Linked DNA regions of Homo sapiens: region 2 is linked to region 1. The links are contacts of gene promoters, found by promoter capture Hi-C in blood cells and fetal thymus (Javierre and others, 2016). All regions are on one chromosome and are shown on one strand. Each heading gives the region's core, a stretch centred on a gene start or on the middle of the fragment in contact. The rest is flanking DNA. Distances are from core to core; before and after follow the strand shown. Region 1 holds the start of H1-8 (H1.8 linker histone). Region 2 overlaps IFT122 (intraflagellar transport 122).

Region 1 (4,749 bases), core at 1,662-4,161:
AGATTTAAGGAATCCACTCAGACTTAAGAAATGTGGGAGGGGCCAGGTGCAGTGGCTCATGCCTGTAATCCCTACACTTTGGGAGGCCAGGTGGGAGGTCACTTGAGGCCAGGAGTTCAAGACCAGCCTGGGCAACATGGCAAGACTCCATTTCTAATATATATACATACATATATATACACATATATATATGTATGTGTGTGTGTATATATATATATATATATATATATATATATATATATATATATATATATATATATTTTTTTTTTAATTAGCCAGGCATAGTGGCATGTGCCTGAGTCCTAGCCACTTGGAAGACTGAAGTAGGAGATCACTTGAGCCCAGAAGGTCGAGGCTGCAGTGAGCTATGATTGCACCACTGCACTCCAGCCTGGGCGACAGAGTGGAACCCTGTCTCAAAAAACAAACAAACAAACAAGAAATGTGAGAGGGGTTGCAAAGTTACATTGCAAATGGGCAGGAGTGAAAAATTGGGGGCAGTTCTGCATCAATTCAACACACACAGAGGAGACAAAAGGGGCCCGATATCAGCACATGGCCCATTCCAGGAGCCGCAGTGTGGGTGAATTGTGGGATTCAAGCGGGGAGGAGGCTCCTTAAGTCAGACTGAAGAGCATGAACTTTCACCCACGGGCAGTGGGGAGCCATGCAGGATGCTAAGCGGGGGAGTGAAATCTGACTTCACTTTAGAACACTTTGATGACCACAGCCTCCCCGAGTCCAGATCTCTGGTGATGGAGAGCCCTCTGGGAAAATTCCACAATAAAGAGACTACCTAGAGAAGAATGTATGCTGTTTAAAACCCATCCCTTCCTCAGAGGTAACCACTTCTACTATTACCTTGGTATGAATCCATTCAGAACTTTTTTCTACTGCTTGTGACTGGTAAGATAAAAAAACAAAAAAATTTTTTAAAAATTAAAAAGAACTATTGTGCCTTCACACACACACACACACACACACACACACACGCAAGTTTTGTCTTCTCAGTAGTTGGGGTGTACTCTCCGATACATTCTGGTTCACTCCTTTTCACTACTGCATACTACTCCACTGTGCGAATAGGCCACAGTTTACTTGTTCACTCTCCACCTGATGGGCATTTATGTTGTTTTGAATTTCTGCTAAGATTGAAATAAACATCTTTGCACGTAAGTGTATATGTTTGTCTCAGATCTACGCCTAGAGTGGAATAGGTGGGTTGTGGAGTGAGTCCCTCCTTAGTTGTATGAAACATCGCTGAATTGCTTTCTAAGGCGGCTACCAGCTCACTCCCCACCCCCCAGCAGCTATACTTTCCTTGAATCCTAGTCACTCACTATTGATAGACACTTACATCTTTGTCATTTTGCTGAGTGTGAAATACAGCCTCATTCTTGTTTGTTTTCTTTTCTTTCCCTCCCCCTTTTTTTTGGGGGGGGCAGGGTCTTACTCTGTAGCCCAGGCTGGAGTGCAGGGGTGTGATCACAGCTCCCTGCAGCCTTGACCTCCCAGGCTCAAGCAATCCTCCTGCCTCGGCCTCCCAGGTAGCTGGGACTACAGGTGCACACCACCATGCCCAGCTAATTTTTGTATTTTTTGGTAGAGACAGGATTTCACTTTTTTGCCTAGGCTGGTCTTGAACTCCTGGGCTCAAGCGATCCTCCTGCCTCAGCCTCCCGAAGTTCTGGGATTACAGGTATGAGCCACCATGCCTGGCCTCTCATCCTTGTTTTAATCCATCTTGTCATTTTATATTATATTATATTATTTTATTTTATTTTTATTTACTTATTTTTGAGACACAGTTTCGCTCTTGTTGCCCAGGCTGGAGTGCAATGGCTCGATCCTGGTTCACTGCAGTCTCCAGCTCCCAGGTTCAAGTGATTCTCCTGCCTCAGCCTCCCAAGTAGCTGGGACTACAGGTGCACACCACCACGCCCAGCTAATTTTGTATTTTTAGTAGAGATGAAGTTTTACCATGTTGGCCAGGCTGGTCTCAAACTCCTGACCTCAGGTGATCCGCCCACCTCAGCCTCCCAAAGTGCTAGGATTACAGGCCTGAGCCACCGCACCAGCCCACCTTGTCATTTTAGATGGCTGCAGAATATTCTGCAGAAAGGGTGTGATTTAGCCAGGCCTTGGGTGTTTGCTTGGAAAGTTTTTTTTTTTTGTCTGTCAATTTGATGGGAAAAAGTAGTATTTCACCATTGTTTCAATTTGAATTTTCTCAAATGCCAAGGAAGTTGAGTGTCCATTTTCCTGTTTCTGTTCCTCACCCTTTAGGCTGGTGAATTGCCTGTTTATATTCTTTGTCCATTGTCCCAGTGGATGTTGTCCTTATCTATGAAGACTTTTGTGAAGCATCCTCCGTTATTGATTTATTTCTTTAAAAACAAAACCAAAGGAGGGCATAGGCCCAGAGAGCCTGGCTGGCCTCAGAAGGGGCTACTCTGATTGAGGGGCATGTGCTCTGGGCAAAAGTAGCAGTTGGGCTGCCTCCAACTGCTACTTTTTGAGAAATTGAGGCCAGCAGTGGCGTGGGGCAGCCCATTGCCCACCTGGTAGGATTAGAGGGCCGCCTCAGCGGCCTCCCTGACAACACAGGTGACCCCAATTCCTCATCAGCATCTCCAGCCCCTGGTGGGCAGAGGGCACAGGCGAGATCAAGCATCTCAGCTCCCAACATTGCACCATGGGGACTGAGACCCAGAGAAGTCAAGCGACACCCCCAAGCTTACACAGGAGTGGGTAGTCCAGCTGGGGCTCCCTACAGAAGGCAGGATGCTGTGCCCCATTCCACACCTCCAGCCCCAGTCAGCAGCTTGGAGCACTCCCAGCCCAATCAGGGCTGATTGGAGTGGTGGGGGTGGGCTGCTGGTATATAAGCCTAGTGGGCAGGCCCAGCAGCCTCACACCCGGGTGAGGGGTCTGCTGGCTGCACCTGTCGGTCTCATGGCTCCTGGGAGCGTCACCAGCGACATCTCACCCTCCTCGACTTCCACAGCAGGATCATCCAGGTCTCCTGAATCTGAAAAGCCAGGTGAGCAAGAGGAGGCAGCTCCTCCCTCATCCCTGCGAGCCCACTCCCTGGGTTGCCTTTGATGCTCCACCCCTGCTTCTCGTTCTTTCCCAGCCTGGCCCCAGCACCTACCCAGCACCCACCCAGCACTCACCCAGCACTCACCCAGCACCCACCCAGCACCAAGCTGCTGAGCTCAACTGCCTTTTGGCTGAAGAGCTGATCTACAGGTAGCAAGGCCAGGTAGGGCCTGGGGGCTGGGGCCGGCCTCGCTCAGGGAAGAGCCACAGGGCCTTCCAGCTGGAGCCCGTTTCCTGCTGGGACCGTAGCCCGTAGCCAGGCTGCAGCTGTGGGCAGCTAGTTGGAGGGACTGGGGCAGGAGCATTTTATGCAGGGCTAGGCATTCCGATTTTCAACCAAAAAACACCTCAGGGTTTATCTGGACATGAGGGTGCACCGAGGCAAACCAGGCCCAGTTCACTCCCTCGAGGACCTCCCGGTCTGATGGGGAAGCCTGGCCCATGGCTTGTTGCTGTTTGCTAATGTGATGTGTGCTTCAGTGGCGGTAATCCAGAGCTGGAGGAGCCCAGAGGAGTCCTCTAACCCACTCTGGGAGGTCAGGGAAAGCTTCCTAGAAGAGGTGACCCTGAAGGATGGGTGTGCCTCAGCCGGGGGAAGTGTTCTATTTGCCAAGACACCTAGGGAGATAGGGAGGGGGTCCAGGTGCCGAGAAGTAAAAGGGCAGAGTTAACTGGGAAGTCAGAGGTGTCCAAACCAAGGTGCATTTTGAGCCTTGAAGGATGAGTGAGAGCAGCCTGCATGACCGGGAGGAGAGAGGCAGCCCAGGCAGAGGAAACGGCATGGGCTAAGGCCCAGAGGCCAGCGCACCAGCAGCTTGTCTCGGAAGCTGCATCTTCCTTCTGGGAAGGAGGGAAGTGCTGGGGCAGTGCTAGGGGAGCAGTGGGAGGGCCTCCAAGGCGGTCTTCAGTTAGGTCAACTTTTATCTTGAACAGGGAGCCATGGACGGTTTCAAGCAGGGAGGTGAGGGGTGTGAGATACAGCGAGGAGAATGCATGCGGTGGGGAAGAGGCAGTGGGGAGGAGGCTGGGGCTGGGGAGTTGGAGAGGAGAGGCCAGAATATGGAGAGAAAAGCCTATGGGGAGGCCTCGAGTGGGTGTGGTGAGGAGGAAAGGGCCCAGAATGCCCCCAGTTCTTGCTTGGATGTTGGGTAGGTATGGGCAGTGGGGGCATGGGGCATTCCTGGAAGAGAGAGGAGGGGCAGATTTGGGGGGCTGAGCTCTGTTCTGGACATCCTGGTATACAGCAGGCATGGAATAGCTGCCGAATGAGGGGCTGGGATGAGAGGGAACAGACCTGAGGGAGGACTCCTGGGGGTGGCTCTCTGGGACAGACATGGTCTGGGGGAAGCAGAGGAGGGGTTGGAGCTGCTCGTGAAGTCAGGCCAAGCGAAGACCCTTGGGAAGCCCTGTAGCACTGCAGCTGGGAGGGCTCAGACCTCCTTAGAGGCCCCCGTCCCCACTGTACGGATGGGAAGACTGAGGCCTAGAGGGAAGAATGAAACTCCCGAGAACCCGGGAGTGACCCAGGACTACACCAGCTCAACGCCTTTGGCCCCCAAATGAATATTCCCACACTGGGCTCGTCATGGCCAGGACCCAACAGGGGTCGAAGTGATTAGGTCTCTTTATAATTTTGCTCTAGATCTA
Region 2 (4,749 bases), core at 1,237-3,736, 33 kb before region 1:
AATGTAACCCACTGGTCACAGTGAACTGCTGAGGAATCTTGGTCTCCTCTGGGAAGAAAAAGTTTGAGTTTCTTTGATTGACTGTTTGTCTGCCATGCATCAAGCAGTGGGCTCCTGAATTGTGATCCAGAGCTGGAATGGGCCTTGCTAGTTCCTCAGTGCAGGCTTTGATGACTCAGGGAAACTCTGCATTAACCAGCAAGAGGGGTGGGAGTTCCATGAGGCCCTCTCCTTCAGTAGGGCGAAGGCCCAGATTAACCAAAGGCTCGAGATCCCTCCCTGGCCCTGTCAGTGATTTGTGTGTTCTTCAGCAATTCACTTTCCCTCTCTGTCCCTCAGTTTCCTTCTCTGTGAAACTAGAGTGTTGGCTTGGTCTCCAGAAACCCAAGTAGTTCTTTTTAGTCACTCCCTGATTCCTTTGAGAAAGCCATTTTAAATCTCTCTGGTGGCAATGGGGAACAGGTGATGGGTTGTCAACAGCCTCTTCATCCACTGTATCTCCTCAATCACCCAACAGATGTTGAGCACTTAGTACCTAGTAGGCAATGTACTGAGGGCTTCATTGTATCAAGTCATTTCCTCCTTTCAACCACACTTTGAGGGAAGGACTGTCACCCCCATGTTACAGATGAGAATGAAGCCCTAGACAGAGAGGTCTCAGAGGTTATTAGGTTGGTGCAAAAGTAATTGCGGTTTCAGACTGAATTTTAAATCATTATAACTAGGCTCAAACACATCTTTATTAATTAAAATAGGAACCATTATGATCAACACATTTTTGCCAATGAGAAATAAGTCTGTTTATTTCTGTAGCATAAAAATCCATACTTTGGGATTTGACGAACTCTTGGAAAGCATTTTCTGCATCCTGCTGGTTGTGGAAGCATTTTCCCTGCAAAAAGTTGTTGAGATGGTTGAAGAAGTGGTAGTTGGTTAGCAAGAGGTCAGGTGAATATTGCGATGAGGCAAAATTTTGAAGTATTGGTTGTGTGATGTGCAGTCAGGTGGGTGGAGAAGAATTGGGCCCTTTCTGTGAACCAGTGCCAGCTGCAGGTGTTGCAGTTTTCGGTGCATCTCCTCGATTTGCTGAGCATACTTCTCAAATGTAATCATTTCACCAGGATCAGACAACTGTAGTGGATCAGACCAGCAGCAGACCACCAAACAGTGATCATGACCTTTTTTTGGTGCAAGTTTGGCTTTGGGAACTGCTTTGGAGCTTTTTCTCAGTCCAGCCGTGGAGCTGGTCATCACGGTTGTCATGTAAAGTCCACTTTTTGTCACACCTCACATCTGATTGAGAAATGTTTTGTTGTTGTTGCATAGAATAAGAAAAGACAACACTTCAAAACGACTATATTTTCATTTTCTATCAGCTCATGAGGCACCCACTTATCAAGCTTTTTCACCTTCCCAATTTGCTTCAAATGCCAAACAACCGTAGAATGGTTGACATTGAGTTCTTCGGCAACTTCTCCTGTAGTTGTGAGAGGATCAGCTTCGATGATTGCTCTCGGTTGTTGTCAACTTCCAGTGGCCGGCCACTATGCTCCTCATCTTCAAGCCTCTCATCTCCTTTGCAAAACTTCTTGAACCACCACTGCACTGTATGTTTGTTAGCAGTTCCTGGGCCAAATGCGTTGTCGATGTTACGAGTTGTCTCTGTTGCTTTATGACCCATTTTGAACTCAAATAAGAAAACTGCTTGAATTTGTTTTTTGTCTAACATCATTTGCATAGTCTAAAATAAACAGTAAGTAATAACTCATTAGCAAAAAAACATAAAGCGAGAAATGCCCGTTGAAATGATGTATAACATAACCACATTTAAGAATGTATTCTACTATCAAACAGCAAATTCCAGAGCCAATATGTGAGTCTCAGTAGTCTGGCACTGGAGCCTGTGTTCCTAGCCTTTCCCTCCCTGTCTCCTTTTAGAGAAAGCAGGCTAGTATGTTGGTTTAGTGGGTAAACTCGAGAGTCCTCACACACAAATGACACTGTGTTACTTATCTTCTCTGGCCTTCAGCTTCTTTCTCTATAAAATAGGGATAACAGCACTATGTACTTGATGGGATTGTTTTGAGGATTAGACGAGTTAATATTGGAAGAGTACCTAGCACAGAGTGACCCTAGGTGGCAGCTATCCTTACTGCTGCTCCAGGCAAGGCTTCACGCCAGCTTTCCCTGACCTGCTCCCTCCAGCTGGGCATCTAGCATTTCTCTTTTTTCAGAGATGAGGTCTCTGTCGCCCAAGGTGGAGTGCAGTGTCATGATCATAGCTCATGGCAGCCTCAAACTGCTGGACTCAAGTGATCCTCCTGCCTGAGCCTCCCAGAGCACTGGGATTACAGGCATGAGCCACCACGCCCAGCCTTCCCGCCGTTCTTTGACCTCTCAAATGCCCTGCCTTCCACCTTGGGCATTTCTTTCCCTCTAATCTGTGCTGACTTCTCAGCACATTTTTTGCCTCTTGGGAAAGTCTGGCAAGAAGGACTCCTGACAGGCTCTGTGCATGCCGTCAGTCTAGTGTTACATCTCTTCCCACAGCAGGGTCAGTGGTCTCAAGGGACCTCATCTTCCCTTACAGTCTTTGGCTTTCCTGAAACGAGACCCCCTCAGGGTCCCTCATCTTTATCAGGTGCTCACCTGGAGAGAAACCACCACAAAAGGAGCCCAGACTCAACTTAGGCTGGAAGTCAGGGCCCAGCTCAGCCTCACTTTGCCCAAGCCACTCCAGAGCCTGGCTCTCAGCTCCTTCCCTCAGACTTTTCTCTCGCTGCTCCCTGTCCTCTTCCTCACCTGGGGCATGGGGCTGAGGGCTCCTGTCTCTAACAGCTGAGCTCTGCTCCAGGACCTACATGGGACTAGGAGCTAAGGGGCCTCAGACCAGCTGGGGCCCTGGCTCTTATCCCAGCTGAATCTTATTAATTGGGCCATTCCTTCATTCAATAAATGCCTACTACGTGACAGACCCTGTGATGAGACCTGGTGACACGGTGGTGAACAAAACGTTGTCCCTGCAGTCAGTCCCAGTCTAGCAAACAGGACAATCCCTCAGGGGAAACGTTTAGAGGCCTGTGAAGAGACTTCCTGGAGGAGGTGTCCTCTCAGCCAGAAGGAGGGAGAGAATAAAAATGGGGCAAGTGAAGTGGAGGAGGATTAGGAAGGGTGTTTGTGGCAAAGGTCACAGCCTGTGCAAAGGCCTGGAGGTGAGTGGTAGTTTGTGGTTCAGCATCCAGGGCCCAGCAGAGCAGCACTGATTCAGGGCAAGACTGGAAAGGGAAGTTCAGGTCCTTCCTGGATACATGGCATCTTTCCCAGAGGAAAGGACTCCCCTGCTACCTATTCTCTCTGGGACGTTACTTAGCTTCCCTACCTAGTGCAGTAGAACCACAGGCAGAGTTCATCTTGTTCTTACCCTGGAAAGGATGTGGTCTCAGGTTTTCTTGGGTTCTTGGAGCTAACAAAAGGTATAGAAATTTACGTGTGAACTAAATAGAAAATGCTAAGCTCTGAACTGAAGAAGTGTAGAGCAAAGTGAGTCCTCAGGAGTTCAGACCAATTAGGGGTTAAGCTTTGGTGGCTCAGTGATGAGTAGGGCCTCACAAGACCCTTCTTAAGTGCTCACAAGAAAGAGGAGTTACTGGCCTGCTGTAATCCTCACCATCTAAAGCTTTATTAGAAATGGGCAATCTCAGTTTATATACAGTGTGCCAGATGCCTTCAAAATAAGGTATTCTTAACCTTTTGTAGACCCTCACACAGAAAATTCCTTATTTGTCTGCTGAGCTTCTGGCAGCCTCTAGGTACGAAGACCAATCACTAATCTGTGCTAACTGCCTCCTGTTAGTGCCTATGCCAGGAGCCAGGGAAATGGGTCAGCAGTTGAGGAACTCCGCATGTGTGCTCGTTTGGTGGCACATCAGTCAAGCTGCTGTTGGAAAGCACAGAAGAGGCATGTGGGTTCATGCTGGAGAGGGCTAAATGCCTCTGTTGAAAGACAGGCTTATATGAATCAGTGGTTATGTCCTAAGCTGCATAGAAGGTCTTCTCTTTTAGAGCTAATTGGAGACAACTTGAGTAGTTCAGAGAAATGGAATAATTACCAACTCCAGAGGCAGTACAGCTTGGAAGAAAGACATTCTTGGGCTTTGGAATCAGACCTGGGTTTGAACAGCAGCTCAGCTCTGTTCTAGTTGGTGACTTGGGCAAATCATCTATCTAGGTGTCGGTTTCCTCATCAGTACTGTGAGGATAAAAATGCATACCACAAGGTTATTATGTTAAAGACCAGATGAGACAGTGGCTATATGGCGCTCAGCACACAGTAGGAGTAGGTGCTCAATAATCAGAGCCGCTCTTGTTGATGTCACTCAGAATTATTGGTGTCTGCCTTTTGGCCTGGCCCAGCAGCAGCTCTTGAAGAACTCAATCCCTGTTTGCTTTTCTCTCACTGCAGGAAGATCCGTTCAGTGTCCATCGTCCTGAAACTCTTTTCAACATCTCCAGGTTCCTGCTGCACAGCCTGCCCAAGGACACCCCCTCGGGCATCTCTAAAGTGTATCCTTTCTCTTATCCCTCCTCCGTCCCACCACCGTTCTTGTCTAATGGCCCCAAGAAATTCCTTCCAGAGCACTTTCCTGGCAGAACCTTCCTCTCTCAGCAACCCTCAGGGAAGACAGAGAACTCACCCTCCCGCTGCTGTTTGGCTATAGAGGCTCAGCAGGGAGGCCCAGGGGCCCAGGC

What was found. Contacts are between HindIII fragments. The CHiCAGO score rates a contact against its expected background, and 5 or more counts as called.
Region 2: a contact is called between a fragment that was not itself captured here and the fragment with the promoter of H1-8 in region 1, in 1 of 17 cell types (endothelial precursors). The highest score is 6.2, in endothelial precursors.

Annotation. Positions count from the first base shown.
Region 1 is chr3:129,540,264-129,545,012 of GRCh38, forward strand. H1-8 (H1.8 linker histone) reads left to right here and starts at 2,912. Exons shown (of 5, transcript NM_153833.3): 1 at 2,912-3,043. The coding sequence starts at 2,956. RefSeq lists an enhancer at 2,451-2,952. The HindIII fragment of the contact is 913 bases long and covers 2,735-3,647 here.
Region 2 is chr3:129,507,850-129,512,598 of GRCh38, forward strand. It overlaps IFT122 (intraflagellar transport 122), which reads left to right. Exons shown (of 30, transcript NM_052989.3): 24 at 4,463-4,563. Among named protein-coding and RNA genes, the nearest start is that of RHO, 18 kb to the right of the region's middle. The HindIII fragment of the contact is 2,177 bases long and covers 1,399-3,575 here.